Regions from separate parts of the Homo sapiens genome. Here region 1 is linked to region 2. The links are contacts of gene promoters, found by promoter capture Hi-C in blood cells and fetal thymus (Javierre and others, 2016). All regions are on one chromosome and are shown on one strand. Each heading gives the region's core, a stretch centred on a gene start or on the middle of the fragment in contact. The rest is flanking DNA. Distances are from core to core; before and after follow the strand shown. Region 1 has its middle 26 kb from the start of SCMH1-DT. Region 2 holds the start of FOXO6-AS1 (FOXO6 antisense RNA 1).

What was found. Contacts are between HindIII fragments. The CHiCAGO score rates a contact against its expected background, and 5 or more counts as called.
Region 1: a fragment that was not itself captured here is called in contact with the fragment with the promoter of FOXO6-AS1 in region 2 in 1 of 17 cell types (monocytes); the score reaches 6.6 in monocytes.

The regions. Positions count from the first base shown.
Region 1 is chr1:41,266,531-41,270,197 of GRCh38, forward strand. No RefSeq gene overlaps it. Among named protein-coding and RNA genes, the nearest start is that of SCMH1-DT, 26 kb to the left of the region's middle. RefSeq lists an enhancer at 1,687-1,981. The HindIII fragment of the contact is 2,406 bases long and covers 177-2,582 here.
Region 2 is chr1:41,373,779-41,377,541 of GRCh38, forward strand. It overlaps FOXO6-AS1 (FOXO6 antisense RNA 1), which reads right to left and starts at 1,891. Exons shown (of 2, transcript NR_135817.1): 1 at 1,747-1,891; 2 at 1,226-1,474. All of the region lies in intron 1 of FOXO6 (forkhead box O6), which reads left to right. The HindIII fragment of the contact is 10,680 bases long and covers 1-3,763 here.

The DNA.
Region 1 (3,667 bases), core at 130-2,629, 110 kb before region 2:
AAGGTCTCCAGGCTCCCCACTTACCCGTTTAGGAAGATATCCCAAGGAACAGGATAGAGAGGATGCACCATTCCACTGCCCAACCTCAGTTCCTGAAGTACAGTGACCCAAATCAGAGGGCAGGGGTCCCTTGTCCCTTTGTCAGTGCACACTATACTCTGATTTCGCTGTGTGAAAGCTTATCACAGTGCCGGGCCCATAATAGCAGCTTTCATAAATAGCCAGTCCAATTCCCAGTTTTGCAAGTGAGAAAACTGAGGCTCAGAGTGGCCTGGTTTAGGATCCAAGTCTTAGAAATTTCCAGGATATCTTGAATGATGGAATTTAGGAGAACACAATGGTCTTTGATCCTCATTTTGGCTTAAGACTTTCAGGTTTTATTTATGTTGTAATCCAGATGATACTATGTGGAATCAAACACATGACCTTATCTGTGGCTAGATGCATGACTGTCCAGGAGCTTGCAGGAATTAACCAGTGGCCAACCTTGTAATGCACAAGACTTTTATGTTACCTGAAACAAATAGAATTAGGTAGCAGGTAGAATTTTTATTTTTATTTATTTATTTGTTTATTTATTTTTTGAGACAGAGTCTCACTCTGTCACCCAGGCTGGAGTGCAGTGGTGTGATCTCAGCTCAGTGCAACCTCCGCCTCCTGGGTTCAAGTGAGCTCATGCCTCAGCCTCCCAAGTAGCTGGGACCACAGGTGCGTGCCACCACACCCAGTTAATTTTTGTATTTTTAGTAGGGGCGGGGTTTCACCATATTGATCAGGCTGGTCTTGAACTCTTGACCTCAAGTTATCTGTCCTCTTTGGCCTCCCAAAGTGCTGGGATTACAGGAGTGAGCCACCACGCCCAGCCAGAATCAATATTTTTGAAAAATGAACACAAATGTATTACCTACCATGTACCAAGCACAGTTTTAAGAGGGTCTAGTAGATAACTGAGCAACACTATGAGGTACAGATGATTACTCTCATCATCCTCATTTTCCAGACAAGGAAACGGAGGCTGAGATAAATAACTTGCTGAAGGCCTCATAGCTATTGTGAAGCCTGGACTCACCCAAGCAGTGGCCTCAGAGCCCACAATCTTAACCCCTTTCTAGAGCCCTCTCCTCAACTTTGCAATTGTTGAACATCAGGACCTGAGGGAAACTTTGGGATCACCTAGTCTAATCCCTTTCCTTTCCTCATGCGGTACTGAAGGCCACAGAGTGACCCAGATCCAGCCAAGGTTATTCAGCAAGTTGTAAAAGACAGAGCTTGAATCTGAGTCCTGAGGGTGGGTCCCCTGGCTCCTGTTCAGTTATTTTTGCTCACTTCTTTTAAAAAGCCTAAAAAATGAAATGATCCACTGAGCATCTTCTGGGTACCCACATTGTGCTGGATGTTTTTGTGGAAAAAAACCTTGGGTTTACATTGAGAAGTCCTGGAATCAAATCTTACCTCAATTGCTTGCCCAGTGACCTTAAGCAAGTCACTTTCTATGTCTTGGCCTCAGTTTCTCCAGAAAAGGAATAAGGATATAATTGCCTTAAGGATTATGTCAGAATGAGTGGCACAAAGTAATTACTCAAGTAAAAGGAATGGACGCTGAAGACACAGGCCGTGTGCCCTCTACAATCTGGATGTGGAGGTGAGACTGACATGCAGAGGAGGATCAGAGGAGAGCAGAGAGCATGCTTTGTTGGCAGGTCAGACGATGAATGTTAGGACACTTCATGCACTGTTGGCTCCATCTGGCAATGGAGGTGATTCAGGATCAAGAAATCATCCAGGGAAAGGCTGGCCTGCAAGAACCCAGACTGGACACGAGGTGGCGCTGGTGGCCCACCTGGGAACAGGCAGAGACCGGCGACCAGCCCCGGGGAATCTGATCCTGGCAGTTTCATTCTTTTTGCTTCTAGGCATGAAGTCTACATGAGGGACCCTGGTGGGCTGAGGATGAGGGCGCTCTGCCCCACCAAAGGATAAATGGGAATTTTACACTCCTTATCTCATTTAGTCTTCACAGCCACCTTTTCAGGTATTCAGTTTTACACACAGGACACTGTGACTCAAAAGATGTTAAATAATTTCCTCAAGGGATACTATTGAGAAGTAGATCCAGGCCCACTGATTCTAAATCCCATGCTCTTTCCAGGAAAATATGCTCCTCCCAGCCAGTGGAATCAGTCTATCAACAGAGGCTAAACAGGATGTAAGGGAGATCGTACCAGAAAATAGAAGACCAGATTAAAACTGCCTCCTCCTCATGGCCTTCCTAGACTGTCCCCATTCCTTTTTCACCCAGTCCACTCCAACAACCTCCTAATCCATTTCCCTGCTTCCATTCTTGCACCCTAGGCTCTGTTCTCTACAGTGATCTTGTGAGAAGGAAACCAAGTGGCAGTATTCTGCCTTTTTGCCGTTCAAAACACTCCAATGCTTCTGATTCCAATTTGAACAATGTCTGAATTTCTCACCACAGCTATGAGCGGTGCTGTGCTGGTAACAACCAGTTCTCAGAGGCAGAGAGCCCTGATATGTAGCATTTGCTAATTGTGGTGCATATTCTCCCTCCATGGCCAATTTCAAGCTTCCAAGGTAACATCACTGAGCTCAGAGTTGAGAAGGGATGTAAAGAATCGAGACAGAGCCAGTCTGAGTTGACACCAACGCACTGCTGCACCAAGGCTCCACACATAAGATCTGGCCTCAGACGCCTTCTCCAGACAACCCGCTTATTCTGCTACCCCTGTTCACTCTGCTGGATCACTGGCCTTCTTGCTGTTTCTTGAACATAACAAGTACATTTCCACCTCGGGGCCTTGGCACTTGCTTTCCTCTGTTTGGGATGCTCTTCCCCAAAAATGTGCATAACTTGCTGCGTCACTTCATTCAGGTCTCAGCTCAAATGTTACAGAGAGGCCTCCCCTGAGCATCTTCCCTAAGACATCCTACCCACTCCCACCCTCCATCACTTTTATTCCTTGCTCTGCTGTATTTTTTCTCTAAGGGCCTCAATCTCTATTTAATAATAAATGATAGACATTTAAACTTATTTGTCTAGGTCAGGACTGGATGGCCATCCCTAGAACAGACCTGACTCAAAGAAAGCACTTAATACATATTTGCTGGTTGATAAATGAGTAATTACTTTTCCTCTACATGTAATGCCTTTTTTTACTGCAATAGCCTTGATGTTTTCTCTTTATTCTTGATGTGCTATCGTCTCACTACACTGGGTCTAGGTGTAAATTTATTTGTTCTGTTCAGCACTGAGTGCGCATTTTGAATCTAAGCAATGTCTTTCTCTCATTCTGGACAATTCTCAGTCCTTATTTCTGTAATCTTGCTTCTCCTGCACTCCCTCTGTTCTGGAACTCCTACATAACAGTCTGTCAGTCTCTACTCTGTGTTTCGTAACTGCTTGGCATTCTATAGAATGCCAGTTGTCTCCCAGTGTCTATTCCACTTTTTCCTTAGTAATAGAATCTCTAACTTTCAGCTAGGCACATGCCTACTTGGGTTAAAAATGACATTTCTTGGCTGGGCGTGGTGGCTCATGCCTGTAATCCCAGCACTTTGGGAGGCTGAGGTGGGCAGATCATCTGAGGTTAGGAGTTTGAAACCAGCCTGGCCAACATGGTGAAACCCCCTCTCTACTAAAAATACAAAA
Region 2 (3,763 bases), core at 641-3,140:
TCTATCCCTTCTCCACTGCAGACCCTAGTGCCGAGGATTTGCACATGGCCTCGGGTCCCTGGCATCATCCAGGTCACATCTTTTGCCAGGAAGAGGCCTGGACTGAGAACCTGAACTTCACCCCAGATGGCAGGGCAAGTGACTCTCAGGGTGTCTGTGGCTCTGTCTGACACAGGTGTGTGTTCCTAGGCCAGGCTGGGGCCCCAGAGTTGGGTGGGGGCAAGGGGTAGGATGGGGAGGCTCCTGGGGCTCTGAGACAGGGATGGGATGACATTCTTGACATGTGAGGTTTCATCCAGGTCCCATATGTCCCTGTGGATGCTGGGATTGTTATCTTCGTTATAGTGGAGGCCCACTGTCACATGGATGAAGTTGGGATTCAGTCTCCTGTCTTTGACCTCTCCGTATGCAGGAAGGAAGGCCAGGAGGGAAGGAGGAAATGGGAATCATAGAGGGGATCAGAGCCCTCACCACAGCCCCACAGGAGGTCACTGCAGTAACAGGTGCTGGGTCATTTTCCCCATCAGGTAGTCAGGGTCAGTCTCCTGAGGGAGGGGCTGGGCTGAGCCTTTGACTGTGATGCAACCTGGACAGGCATCCACACCTGACCTTGGGCTTGGGCTGTGATGGGTGGACACAAGATGCAGGGCCGCACTTGGATCCTGAAAGACCCCAGGTACCAGGGAGGCCAGGAGGTAGCACAGGGTTGGTGGTAGGTGGGGGCACAGTCCTTGTCCCCTGTCTCTGATGAAAGCTAGGAGAGCTTGGGCTTGAGCGTCAAGGTGGAGATGGCCACTGGGGTGGACAGCAGAGTGTCCCCTGCCACATTAGGGGTAGGTGTGGGAGAGCTCTGGCTTTGGAATCCAGCAGCCCTAAGACCCAAGCCTGGCTCCGTCATTTCCCAGCTTTGTGGCCTCAGGAGTCATTTAACCCACCTGAGCTTCAGTTTGCCCCCTTTGTAAAATCGCAGTACCTACTCACAGGATGGTTATCAGGATTAAAGGAGCCTAGCCTATGTTAGGCATGTAGTAGGTGGTGCCCTTCTCTGGCTTCAGCATTTGAAGCACATGCCAGTGGTGTGCGAGAGCTGGTTTGCACTGGCTCATGAGGGCTGATCGTGCACACTTCTTCCCAATTCTGCACTCGGTGACGTCATGTGGCAGTTTAAAATTGGCTATGATGTGAGTATCCGTACCACAGAAAGCAGCAACAGCTACAAATCAAATCAGGTAGGTTTTTTTTTTAACTTCCAGAAGAGCTGGTGGTTAAACATTTGCCAGCACACCACTAAATGTGCCCCAGAAAAGGTAACTTCCCCTAGTCCCACTGCCCAGGATCAGAAGAAGATGGCACAGAGATGGCCAGGCAAGTTGGCTCACACCTGTAATCCCAGCACTTTGGGAGGCCGAGGCAGGAAGATCACTTGAGGTCAGGAGTTTGAAACCAACGTGGGCAACATAAGAAATCCTCCTCTCTACAAAAAATATAAAAATTAGCCGAGTGTGGTAGCGCACACCTGTGGTCCCAGCTACTCGGGAGGGTAGGGCGGGAGGATCACTTGAGCCCAGGAGGTCAAGGGTACCATGAGCTATAATTGCACCACTGCACTCCAGCCTGGGTGACAGAGGGAGGCCCTGGCTCTAAATAAATAAATAAATAAATACCCTGGCAAGAAAGAAAGAAAGAAAGAAAGAAAGAAAGAAAGAAAGAAAGAGGAAAAGAAAAGAAAAGAAAGAATGAACGAACCTGGCTATAAATAAATAAGAAGATGGTACAGCAACCATGAGTCCATGTCCCAGAATCCATCCTGTGGGCCCTCTGTAGCCATGGTGGGGACAGAACAGGAGGCAGGGCAATAGTGGAGTTCTGGCTTGGCCAAGCAGCCTAGAACTCAAAGTCCATGGCCCCTTCTGGGCCTGGAGAAATTGGATGGTTATAGCACCAGGCAGCCCTTGTGGGTGGGGGACAGCAAATGAGGGACCTCTCTTTTCTCTACACTCTCCTTTGGCTCCCGGAGATCTGGCAGGCCCTGGCTGGAGGCATAAGATTAGATGAGGTTGAGCTGTTGGAGAATGAAGCTGTGTTGGGAGAAGAAATGAGGTTGTACCGGAAGATCAACGAGGTTGTGCTGTCAGGGAATGAGGTGGTACTTGGGGGCAAGGTGAGGCTGCATTATTAGATAAATGAGGTTGTACTGTCAGGGGATGAAGTGTACTTGTAGTAGAGATGACGTCCTGCTGGATCAGTCGGCTTTTGCTCCATCAGAGAACACAGCCACACCACAGGAGGAAGGAGAGTGTCCGACTCAGAGGATAAATGAGGGTGTCCTGCTGGATAAATGAGGGGGCCCGTCAGGTGAATGGAGTGCTGTTAGCAAATGAGGTTGTACTTGCTGGATAAATGGGACTGGTGTGCTGGATAAATGGGGTTGTGCTGTCAGGTGAATGCATTACTGCTCGTGGGTGAAGGGCATCCTGGGAATAGATGAGGGTGTCCTGCTGGATAGATGAGCTGCCACCACCAAATGGATCAGACCCTGTCCATGAGGGAGGCACCATCAGCAACGACGAGGTTATCCTGTTCCCACTGGGGCTCCTGGAGCGTCTTCTGGCCCAGGGGAGACCTCGGTGTGTGCCAGCCCTGGGTTATCCAAGTCTCTCTGGGGAGCAGGGTGGGGGGCTGGGGAGGGCAGGCAGCTGCATTGTGCACCGTGGGACCTCTCCTTCACCCCCAATGGATGCCCTACTCCTCTCCCTGGCACCCCTCAGTGGGTCAGACTGCTTCGGACATTCTCACCCCACTGCCTGCTTCTCATCCTGCCTGTGTCTTCTTTCTGCCCAGTTTGGAAAAGCCCCTATTATGTGTCAGCCACTCTGCCCAGTCTTATTTAATCTCCCTACAACACAGTATTACTCCTCCTTGCACATACACACTTTCTCTTATTCATTCATCCATTCATTCATTTGACAAACATTTAAGTGTCTAGTATGTACCAAACACATGAGGTACAGTTTTAAAAAGGATAAAAATCACTGCCCTCATGAAACTTATATTCTAATATAAAGATAGGATAAATAATGTATTAATTTAGAATGTGAAAATGCTTTAGAAAAACATAGAGCAGGATCAGGGGGCCAAGAAATTCCAGGGAAGAGGAACAGTTTTTAAGAGAGGTCAGGATGGGCCCCGTTCCAAGAGATGGCATCTGAACAAAGACTGGAAGGAGAGGAGCGATCTCTGTGGATATCTGGGGGCAGGCGGGACCATGCCTGGCAGGTTTGAGGATGGGAGGGAGGGATGGAGCGGGGTACCTGCATGGTCACTGTGGGTCTTGTGGGCCATGGCAAGGCCTTTGTTCCTCACTGTGAGTGAGATGGAGGGTGTCGGAGGGATCTGGGCAGGAATGGACGTGATCTCGGTTATTTGAAGGGTCACTCTGGCTGCTGCGTGGAGTGCTATAAGGAGGTGAGGGAGGGAGCAGGGAGCCATTTGAGGAATGGAGCTTGAAAACATCTTGCCCCAGGGTCATAGCACTCACAGGTGATGGGGCTGAAACGGGGAATCCAGTTCGAACGCTACAGCTGATGTACTTTGCCCTACTCTAGCCTCCTCCCTGGTGGGGGAATCCCTGGGGGCTGGGCTCCCTGGCCCAGGTTCTGAAGGAGAACGGGGTAGGCATGAGATATAACCCACTGTCCTTTCCCTCTGCCCCCAGATGGTCTCCCTCGGGCCCTGAATCAGGTATGTCCTGACTCCCCTAGCA